Regions from separate parts of the Homo sapiens genome. Here region 1 is linked to region 2. Evidence: promoter capture Hi-C in human tissues and cell types (Jung and others, 2019). All regions are on one chromosome and are shown on one strand. The core of a region is centred on a gene start or on the middle of the fragment in contact, and the rest is flanking DNA. Distances in the headings are between cores, read along the strand shown.

Evidence for each region. The method cuts DNA at HindIII sites, captures the fragments that hold promoters and counts their contacts. A contact is called where the count stands out against the background at its distance.
Region 1: the fragment with the promoter of CYP27A1 here is called in contact with the fragment with the promoter of TTLL4 in region 2 in 1 of the 25 tissues and cell types used here (psoas muscle).

What each region holds. Positions count from the first base shown.
Region 1 is chr2:218,780,595-218,785,598 of GRCh38, forward strand. It overlaps CYP27A1 (cytochrome P450 family 27 subfamily A member 1), which reads left to right and starts at 1,553. Exons shown (of 9, transcript NM_000784.4): 1 at 1,553-1,843. The coding sequence starts at 1,589. The HindIII fragment of the contact is 16,207 bases long and covers 1-5,004 here.
Region 2 is chr2:218,709,343-218,714,036 of GRCh38, forward strand. It overlaps TTLL4 (tubulin tyrosine ligase like 4), which reads left to right and starts at 1,493. Exons shown (of 20, transcript NM_014640.5): 1 at 1,493-1,695. LOC124907983 (a long non-coding RNA gene) reads right to left here and starts at 2,142. Exons shown (of 2, transcript XR_007088089.1): 1 at 1,878-2,142; 2 at 260-744. RefSeq lists an enhancer at 1,295-1,394 and silencers at 1,775-1,824, 1,835-1,884. The HindIII fragment of the contact is 14,281 bases long and covers 1-4,694 here.

The sequences.
Region 1 (5,004 bases), core at 303-2,802, 71 kb after region 2:
GTCTCCCCAAGTAGCTGGGATCACGTGTGCCACCACGTTTTTAAAGCATGGCCTCCTGTCCTTCCTGTCCAAAAACCAAATGAAAAATATGGTCTAGGTTGGGTGCTGTGGCTCACACCTGTAATTCCAGCACTTTGGGAGGCCGAGGTAGGTAGATCATCTGAGGTCAGGAGTTTGAGACCAGCCTGGCCAACATGGCAAAACCCTATCTCTACTAAAAATACAAAAATTAGCCGGGCGTGGTGGCGGGCACCTCTAATTCCAGCTACTCTGGAGGCTGAGACCGGAGAATTGCTTGAACCGGGAGGCGGAGGTTGCAGCGAGCCAGGATTGCACCACTGCACTCCAGCCTGGACGACAGGGTGAGACTCTGGGGAGTGGGGAGGAGAGAATTAACAAACTATATGACACAAAGGAACAAAAATACACAAGACAGGATAAGAGAGAGGAAGGATACAGGGAGAGCTAACATACATATAGCAGTTTGAAGTCCCGGGAAAGGAGAAAAAAATGGGGAGGAGCAATATTTGAACAGATAATATCTGAGAAACTCCCCAGACTGATCAAAGACATCCAGTCACAGAGTCAAGAAACTAGGAGTCCTAGAATAAATAAGTAGAAAGCCACACCTAGCAACTCAGCTGTCAGCCTAATTGAACTTAATATGCCCTTTCTTCTCTGGCTGCCTGTAAATCACCAATTTTTCAAATGCTGTTAGAACCAGCTGTACCATCCTGCTGGGTCCTTCATTCCTGGCTTGAATGTGATCTTTGACCCTGTATTTATTTTATACTTGCGTGAGTTATGTTTTTAAACTTTTTGACAACTATACTTTGAATATACATGAAACATAGGATTCATAAGACAATACTTTTTTTTTCTTCTTGCTGTACGTTTTCCGTACTATGTTACTCTTTCCATTTTATTAAAAATAATTCTGGCCATCATCTACGAAATCTGGTCTCAACCTGCAGTTTGAAATATCCTGCCTTGGCAGACGCGGCAGGGAGGTGCGTGGAGGGAGAATTGAATTAAAAAAAAAAACAACAAAACACGAATATTTAGATTTCTTTGTTCAGCGGCCCCCCTCCAGGGATCAGATGACTGGCCCCCCTCGCTCCGAACTGACTCCGGGATCAATCCGGAAGGCCATTGGGAGAAGCCGAGGGCAGCTTAGCCACGGCCGGTTCCCGTTCCCTCCAGGACGCGAGGGTCGCCTTGGGTGGGGAACCGCGACCGGGCGAGGACCTATCCCGGTGTGGGGCTTCCCGATTTCGAAAGAATCTCGCTGCACCCCCGCCCAGAGTTCAGACCAAGCGAAAAGTTATTTGAGAGGCCTCGGGGGCGCGGGGTGAGGAGTCGTGGCGGAGGCCTTGGTCGGGGCGCCGTGGATATCCCCGAGTCACCGCGTCCCTCTCCTGCAGCTCCCGCGTCGCTGGGAGGAGCGAGGGAGCGAGCGGGAAGGGGTCTAGCTGGCCTTTGCTCGGCCCTCCCCAGCGCCCGGCTTTGAACCCGCCCTGCACTGCTGTCTGGGCGGGTCCGGGGACTCAGCACTCGACCCAAAGGTGCAGGCGCGCGAGCACAACCCATGGCTGCGCTGGGCTGCGCGAGGCTGAGGTGGGCGCTGCGAGGGGCCGGCCGTGGCCTCTGCCCCCACGGGGCCAGAGCCAAGGCCGCGATCCCTGCCGCCCTCCCCTCGGACAAGGCCACCGGAGCTCCCGGAGCCGGGCCTGGTGTCCGGCGGCGGCAACGGAGCTTAGAGGAGATTCCACGTCTAGGACAGCTGCGCTTCTTCTTTCAGCTGTTCGTTCAAGGCTATGCCCTGCAACTGCACCAGTTACAGGTAACCCGCGGGGGCATCGCGTCCTGGGGATGGGAGTGGGCACCGGAACAGAGAGGCTAGAGGTGAGAAGACGTTGGACAGAAAGTGAAGGCTGCAGGAACTCAGCTGGGGACCCACTGAGGCTATGGTCATAAACTGGAAATCAGTAGGGAGAATGGGCAAAGTGCAGACAGAGCCCTTTGAGCTGAGATAAACAGGACGAGGAAGGGCTTAAATCAGGACGGCACCAGTAAGGGGGGGATCTGGACGCCGGACTTACAGTGAGCAGAGGTTGAGGAGGGAGCTGTCTTGGGAAGAGAGTGGCAGAGGCAAATGTGTAAGCTAACGGATATTATGGAATCACTAATTCTGGGCTGATATTGGCTACCACAGACTTCTTCCAAACGAAATAACTTCAGGAGGATTATAGAAACCTCTTGGTTATTTGCAAGGTAAATTTCCTCTTAGGGGAAAACACAATGCTGCATCTCAGATCGTGGAAGCAAACTCACAGACAGTAAGGAAAAGGTACTTTTTGTTATTAAGAAATCAGTCTGAGGCCGGGTGCAGTGGCTCACACCTGTAATCTCAGCACCTTGGGAGGCTGAGGTGGGCAGATTACCTGAAGTCAGGAGTTTGAGACCAGCCTGGCCAACATGGTGAAACCCCATCTCTACTAAAAATACAAACATTAGCCGGGCATGGTGGCACATGCCTGTAATCCCAGCTACTAGGGAGGCTGAGGTAGGAGAATCGCTTGAACCAGGGAGGTAGAGGTTGTGGTGAGCCAAGATTACGCCATTGCACTCCAGTCTGGGCAACAAGAGCGAAACTCTGTCTCAAAAAAAAAAAAAAAAAAAGAAAAAAAGAAAAAAGAAATCAGCCTGTAGTCTGTGTTCAGGTTAGTGGTGTTGGGGGAGAAAACCAATGTCTAATAAGAAAGTTTTATACAGCAGAACACAGAAATGAGGCAGGGATGAACAGCTCACTGCTCACTGACAGAGACCGGAAAACCCAACACTGACCAATGTTGGAGAGGATTTAGGGAATGAACCAAAGGGGTTCATACAGGATCTATCTTCCTAATGACTATCAACAAATATGAATGCACCTACCATGTTCTAGGCATGGTTCCAAGTACTGGGATTCAGTGAGATGAGGCTTCTGCCCTCATGGGGCTTAAATGCTCCTCTGAAGAAGATGGAGGACAAAGAGATAAAGCAACAAAAAGTTAACTTCACAGAGAGAACTCTGGGGGAGAAGCTGTTCTAAGGTTGGGGAAGAGGGAGGGGGCTTCGATTCGGGGTGCCTCCACAAGGACACTTGGTTGTCAGGGACTGATAGGAGTAGGCTGGTCCTGGGCTGGGGTAGCCAACCATCTGCTGGTCATGTGTCTGTGCTGGGAAGGAGTCAAAAGTAAGGAGGAGCTGTGGGGACTGGGGACAGGACTGGCCTTTGAGGACAGCCTTGAAGATCAAGATAAGGGCCCTGGTTCCTCTGAGGGGCCATGGTGAGCTCTTGAGCAAGCATGGGGTGAAGACGGCCTGCATGGAACACTGTCCAGGCTGTGGTGTGTGTAGTAGGAGAGGTGCAGAGGGTCTAAGGTGATGAAGGCTCAGGCGTGGCAGGATCCAGGATGGAGAGGCAGATCTGAGCCACACTCCAGAGAAAACTGGAATGGAGGTTGAGGATGAGGGAGAAGATGACTCTGAGGGCAACGAAGGGCAAAACTGACTACAACCAGGGCTGCATCCTCTGCCCTGTCCTGGTGGCTGCTGTCTCTCCTGCAATCTTCCCTGTTGGGCTCATGTTTGTGAGACTTGGGGATGTGAAAATAAATAATTCAAAACCTAAGCTGTTGGAACTTTAAAATATTTTGAGCCTTAAGGGAATGTGATTATGTGATTATGGCACTCAAGTCACATAAGCAGGCTGCTGTAACCTTTGTTTCTCTGATTTTAGATTAACTTTCTTTACCTCTGTTGTTTTGAAAATGTTGTAAATGTCTACAGGAGGCCAAGGAAGATGCCTTCCCTCTTCACTGTTGAACTTCATTATAGATTAACTTCCTTTTACCTTTCTCACGCAAAGATTTCATGCCTATCGCATTGCTTTAAGAAGAAATGTTAACTATACTATTTTAAATTGGAAAGGAAATGAAAATGAGACACATGGAAAAGAAAACAAGTGATAACTAATTAAATTGTAACTTATAAACCAGCCTTGTGTAGAAAATGTTATAACCCTATGAAACTTTGTTTCCTGTCTATATAAGCAAGGACTTAACTTTTAACTTTGGAGCACTGATCCCATTTTTCTGGAGTGTGTGCTTCCCAAATGGCTATTCCCAGCTTTTCACTTGAATAAAATGTTTAAAACTGGATTCTGATTCTTTTGAGTATTTCAGGTTGACAGGGGGCAGGTCACAAAATACTGAGAGATGGTTTTGAAATCACTTCTTGTGAACCCAGATCCTTTAAGCCAGTGGTCCCCAGTCTTTTTGGCACCAGTTTTGTGGAAGACAATTTTTCCATGGACTGGGGTGGTGGGGATGGTTTTGGGATGATTCAAGTGCATTACATTTATTGTGTATTTTATTTCTATTATTGTTATATTGTAATATATAATGAAATAATTATGCAACTCACCATAATGTGGAATCAGTGGGAGCCCTGAGCTTGTTTTCCTGCAACCAGACTGTCCCATCTGGGGGTGATGGGAGACAGTGACAGATCAGGCATTAGATTCTCTTAAGGAGTGTGCAACCTAGATCCCTCACATATGCAGTTCACAATAGGGTTTGTGCTCCTATGAGAATCTAATGCCAGCACTGATCTGACAGGAGGCAGAGCTCAGGTGGTCATGTGAGTGATGGGGAGTGGCTGTAAATACAGATGAAGCTTTGCTCACTCACCTACTGCTTACCTCCTGCTGGGAGGCCTGGTTCCTAACAGGTCACAGACTAGTACTGGTCTGTGGCCCCGTTGTTGGGGATCCCTGCTTTAAGCCAAGAAAACAGACTCCTGTTAACTTCTTCTGCTTGGTTTAACCTCTAGAAATGGGAGAGACCCAGTAAATGCCTCAAGGGTGAGAACTAAGGATTTCTCAGGGGCAGATTTGCTTAGGATGATGTCTAGAGCAGTAACTAACCAAAGAAATTCTAGATGGCTTTAGGATGAGGA
Region 2 (4,694 bases), core at 243-2,742:
CACCATGCCTGGCTAATTTTTGTATTTTTTGTTGGAGACGGGGTTTCACCATGTTGCCCAGGCTGGTCTTGAACTCCTGACCTCAAGTGATCCTCAGAGTGTTGGGATTACAAGTGTGAGCCACTGTACCTGGCCAACATTTGAATATATTTCTTAAATCTCTTATAATCTAAAACATCTCTCCTCATTTTTATACCCTAAAATTGTTGAAGGAAGAAGAGGTCATTTATTCTGTACATTGGCTCACATTCTGGATTTGTTTGATTGCTTTCTTGTAGTGTTATACAGTTGTTTCTCTTTATTTCTTGTTAACTGGAAATTACAGCCAAAACTTGATTAGAGTCACTCAACTTTTTTTTTTACAAAAATACGCTATACTTCATAAATATTTCTGTTCAATTGCATCACATCAAGAAACAATGCTCAGCTGTCCCATGTTTCGTGATCTAAGATTGATTAGTACATGTAGGTTATCTTCAGTGTACATCCTTCAGTGTAAAATTCTCCCATAAATTATCTAATACTTTTAGCATCCATCAACGACTGTTGACTAAATAAGTTATTTATTGAGATCCTTCCTCTGGTCCAGACTGTTTTCATCAGATTAGTTTTATCTTTGTCCCCTTTATTTCTGTAGCCAATTGCCTAGGAAAGATCCTTTCATCTTCCAGCTTTCTTAGATCTCCAAATCTCTCAGGTCTACGGACATCTGAGGCAGGAGCGCGATCTGGCTTGCCTGGGGAGCTAACGAGATAAGGAATTGAGTCAGTATTTCCTAACGTTCACACTTGAAGCCCATAAAGCAGGCAGGTGGTTTTAATTTTGCCCCGCTGGGTGGGTTGGGGTTAGGGAAGGATGGGTTAGAGGGAGGCAGAGTGAATCGGGCAATCTCCCCTTTCCTGCGGTCAAACTCAAAGGCTTTTTCTAGAAATCCTTCAACTGAGCCTGGGCCCTTTGATTTTCAATTGAGGCAAGGCCAAAGAGTCCAGGCCAGGCGTGGGGGCTCCCGTTGTAATCCCAGCGACCAGGAGGCTGATGCAGGAGGATCACTTGAGGCCAAGAGTTTAAGACCAGTCTGGGTAACATAGTGAGACCCTGTCCTGAGAAAAAAAATTTAAAAATAGCCCAGCATGGTGGCGTGCCTGTAGTCCCAGCTACTCGGAAGGCTGGGGGCGGGCGGATCGCTTGAGCAGGAGTTCAAGTTCGCAGTGAGCTATGATCACGTCGCTGCACTCCAGCCTGGGCGACAGAGCGAGATTCTGTCTCTAAAAAAGAAAACAGTCCATAGGGAGTAGGTGGAATTAGAGTAGAAAGAGAGAGTCCTGGATGCTCCGAATGGAGCCTTTCAGAGCTTTAACCACGGGACTACATCTCCCAGAATTCCGCTCGCCGGATCCCACCGCACTGAAGGGACTGCGCGTGCGCGAGTCAGGTGACGACCCGCCCCTACAGGCCCCAGAACCCCCGAGATTCCCCGCGCTTGCCTCCCGCCCTCTTCTTCCAGACTCTCGGTCTGTCCGCTGGGGGCGCGCGCGGTGTGTGGCAGGCGGCAGCGGCGCTGGCGGCCGAGTGCGCTTGTCACGCGTGGCGGTGCGTGGTTGCTAGGGGCGCCTGAGGCTGCCGGGTAGCCCAGCAGGCCGAGGGAGGAAGTAGCGTGGAGCCGGTGCCGAGCCGGGGCGAAGCTGGATCCCCTAGGTGAGTGCGGCTGCGGAGCCAGGGGAGCCGACCCCAGACACTCCGCCGGTCCCACGCTCCCGACCTCCCTCTACCTGAGTCCTTTCGCGCGGGTCCCCAGCCCTCCGGCCACTCTCACCCTAGCCCCGCTTCCTCCCGCCACCTCTCATCCCCCGGGAGGCCAGGGAGCCGCGGCCTCCTACCCGGCCGGGACTTCGCGCCTCCTCGGAGCCCTTCTCCTCTCCGCCACGCCCCGCGAACTTAGTCGGCCTCGCCTCCGGGTGCCCGAACACTGCCTCATCCCCTAGTTATGGCCTCCGAGCTTCCTCTGTCCTGCCGCGCTGAGGTTTAAATTCCCTCTGGGTGTGAGCCCAAGCTCCTCGCAGGCTCCAGGGCCGAATTTAACATGGATATCTGCTTTTTCACTTCTCCATCCTCAGTATCTGTAGAAGAATACGTTCCTAAACTCCACAGATTCAAACAGGATCTGAGATCCTGTGGAATTTAATTCTTCATTCATCAATTCCTTTATTTAATCATTCACTAAACAATTTTTAGTAAACATTGACAAATATTTAATGAGCCTGGGTACAATGGGAGGGATTGAGGGGATAGAGTGGCTAATAGGACAAGCATGTTTTCACGGAATTTACAGTCTAGGAGATTATTAATCAAGTAAACGAGCATTTGCCATACTGTGGTGTGTGCTGTGATAGAACAGGAAATACTTAATCCGGACTTACTTAGAAAACGACATTATTGCCATTCCTCCTGGTCTTCACATTCCCATTCTGGATCTCGGAAATATTTTAATCCTTCCTTGATGAAATCTTCTTTGCTTTCTCAGATACTACAAATCACCTATTCTTTAACTGCAGCACCTGTTGATTTAGCATTTGGGGGACCCTTTGGGACAGTGTTCCATCCCATCCTTCTGTTTCTTGCACTGAATACTGAGACACTGTTTGCATTTAAACCACCCACTTTGTGCTCAGAAAGTTAGCAGCTACTTATATTGGACTGAATCAATCCTTGAAAAATTATCAAGTGTTTTCTGCGAATAGAGAGGTGGGAGGACATTCCAGATACACAGTGGCTTTAGGAAAGGGACAGCAAGTCCTGAAAAGAGAACTGGAAACAGTTTGACAGACCTGGGCTAGATTTGGAGGGAGCCATCCAGTAACAAATAGAAAGAGTGAAGTTAATAGGGGTTAGATCACAAAGGGCCTTGGATGTTTTGCTGAGTTAGAACTATATCCCTGGAGCAGTGGTTTTCAAGCTGGAGTAATCAGGGTTGTAGACTTCCAAGGGATACACTTGCACGTCTAGCTTAACATGAATACATTTCCAGATCCTCAGCTTCCCAGTGAACTTTTTTTTTTTTTTTTGAGACAGAGTCTTGCTCCGTCACCCAGGCTGGAGTGCAATGGCACGATCTTGGCTCACTGCAACTTCCACCTCCTGGGTTCAAGCGATTCTCCTACCTCATTCTCCGGAGTAGCTGGGATTAGAGGCGCATGCTGCCACGCTCGGTTAATTTTTTGTATTTTTTAGTAGAGACGGGGTTTCACCATCTTGGCCAGGCTGGTCTCAAACTCCTGACCTCGTGATTCACCCGCCTCGGCCTCCCAAAATGTTGGGATTACAGGTGTGAGCCACCGCGCCCGGCCCCAATGAACTCTTTTTCTAAAACTTCCCTTACAAAAAAAGGGTAGGAGGCTGTGTGTGGCAAATCCCTCACACTTCCCAAATTTTAATATGGTGTATTGGCCTGAGTGTAAAAATGTCCTCAGATACAAATAAGGACTACTTTGGAAATATTTATTTTCAGGAACACCTCCTTTAGTGATTTAAGTTACCTCCCAACCCAGAAGGCTTGCCAATACACAATCCCATTCGTGTAAACTGTATTCTTTGTTAAGATATTCTGAAAAGAACACAACAGTTAAATGTAACGGGAATGTCTTTTGGGACAATGGAATTTTTAAGTTATTTGGATAAAACTTGCGTAAAATTTTTAAAGAGATTTCTTTTAGTTCAGGTGTGTGTTACTCAGTAAGATAGTTAATACCTATTTTAAGACTGGGTGTTGTGGCTCACACCTGTAAATCCAACACTTTGGGAGCCTGAGGCAGGCTGATCGCTTGAGACCCAGGAATTCGAGACCAGCCTGGGCAACATGGCGAAACCTCTTCTCTACAAAAAAAAATATGTAAAAATTAGCCAAGCATGGTAGCGTGCTCTTATAGTCCCAGCTATTTGTAGGCTGAGGTGGGAGGATGTATTGAGCCCAGGAGGTTATCCAGGCTGGAGTGCCATGGTGTGATCATAGCTCACTGTAAACTCCAACTCCTGGGTTCAAGCCATCCTCCTGTCTCACCCTCCTGAGTAGCTGAGACTACAGGCATGCGCCACCCATCTGGCTAATTTTTTAAAATTTTTAGTAGTGATGGGGGTCTCTCTATGTTGCCCAGGCTGGTCTCAAATTCCTGGGCCCAAGTGATCCTCCTGCCTCAGCTTCCCAAAGTGCTGGGATTACAGGAGTGAACTACTGTGTCTGGCCTAGACGTTACCTTATATGTAAGGAACACATAGTTTTAAAAATTCTTTCAGGGATACATTAGTAAAATCATGTAAAGAATATGTTCCAGGAAAACCACAGAAAGATAATTATCAGGAAAATCATGTCAGATTTGTATTTAAGATTACTGTAGTGTCAATATGTTGGTTGAATAGGAAGAATTTTAGACTGGAGGCAGGGAGCCAATGAGAAAACTATTATAGTGGCCTAGGCTAGAGATGATGAAGGCTTTATGTTTGCTCTAGTGGAAATGGAGAGGGTTTAGAGAGATGTTAACCATGGTAGTGTTGACAAAACCTGGTGGCAGAATAGAGGTAGAAGAATGGGACAAGGAGCAGTGTAGAATGATTGTAAGTTTCTGATTTCAGTGACCATGTGGGTGGTGATGCAGCAGCACATCCAGGTAGAAAGGCCCAGGAGTTCATTCTGTAGGTCTGGA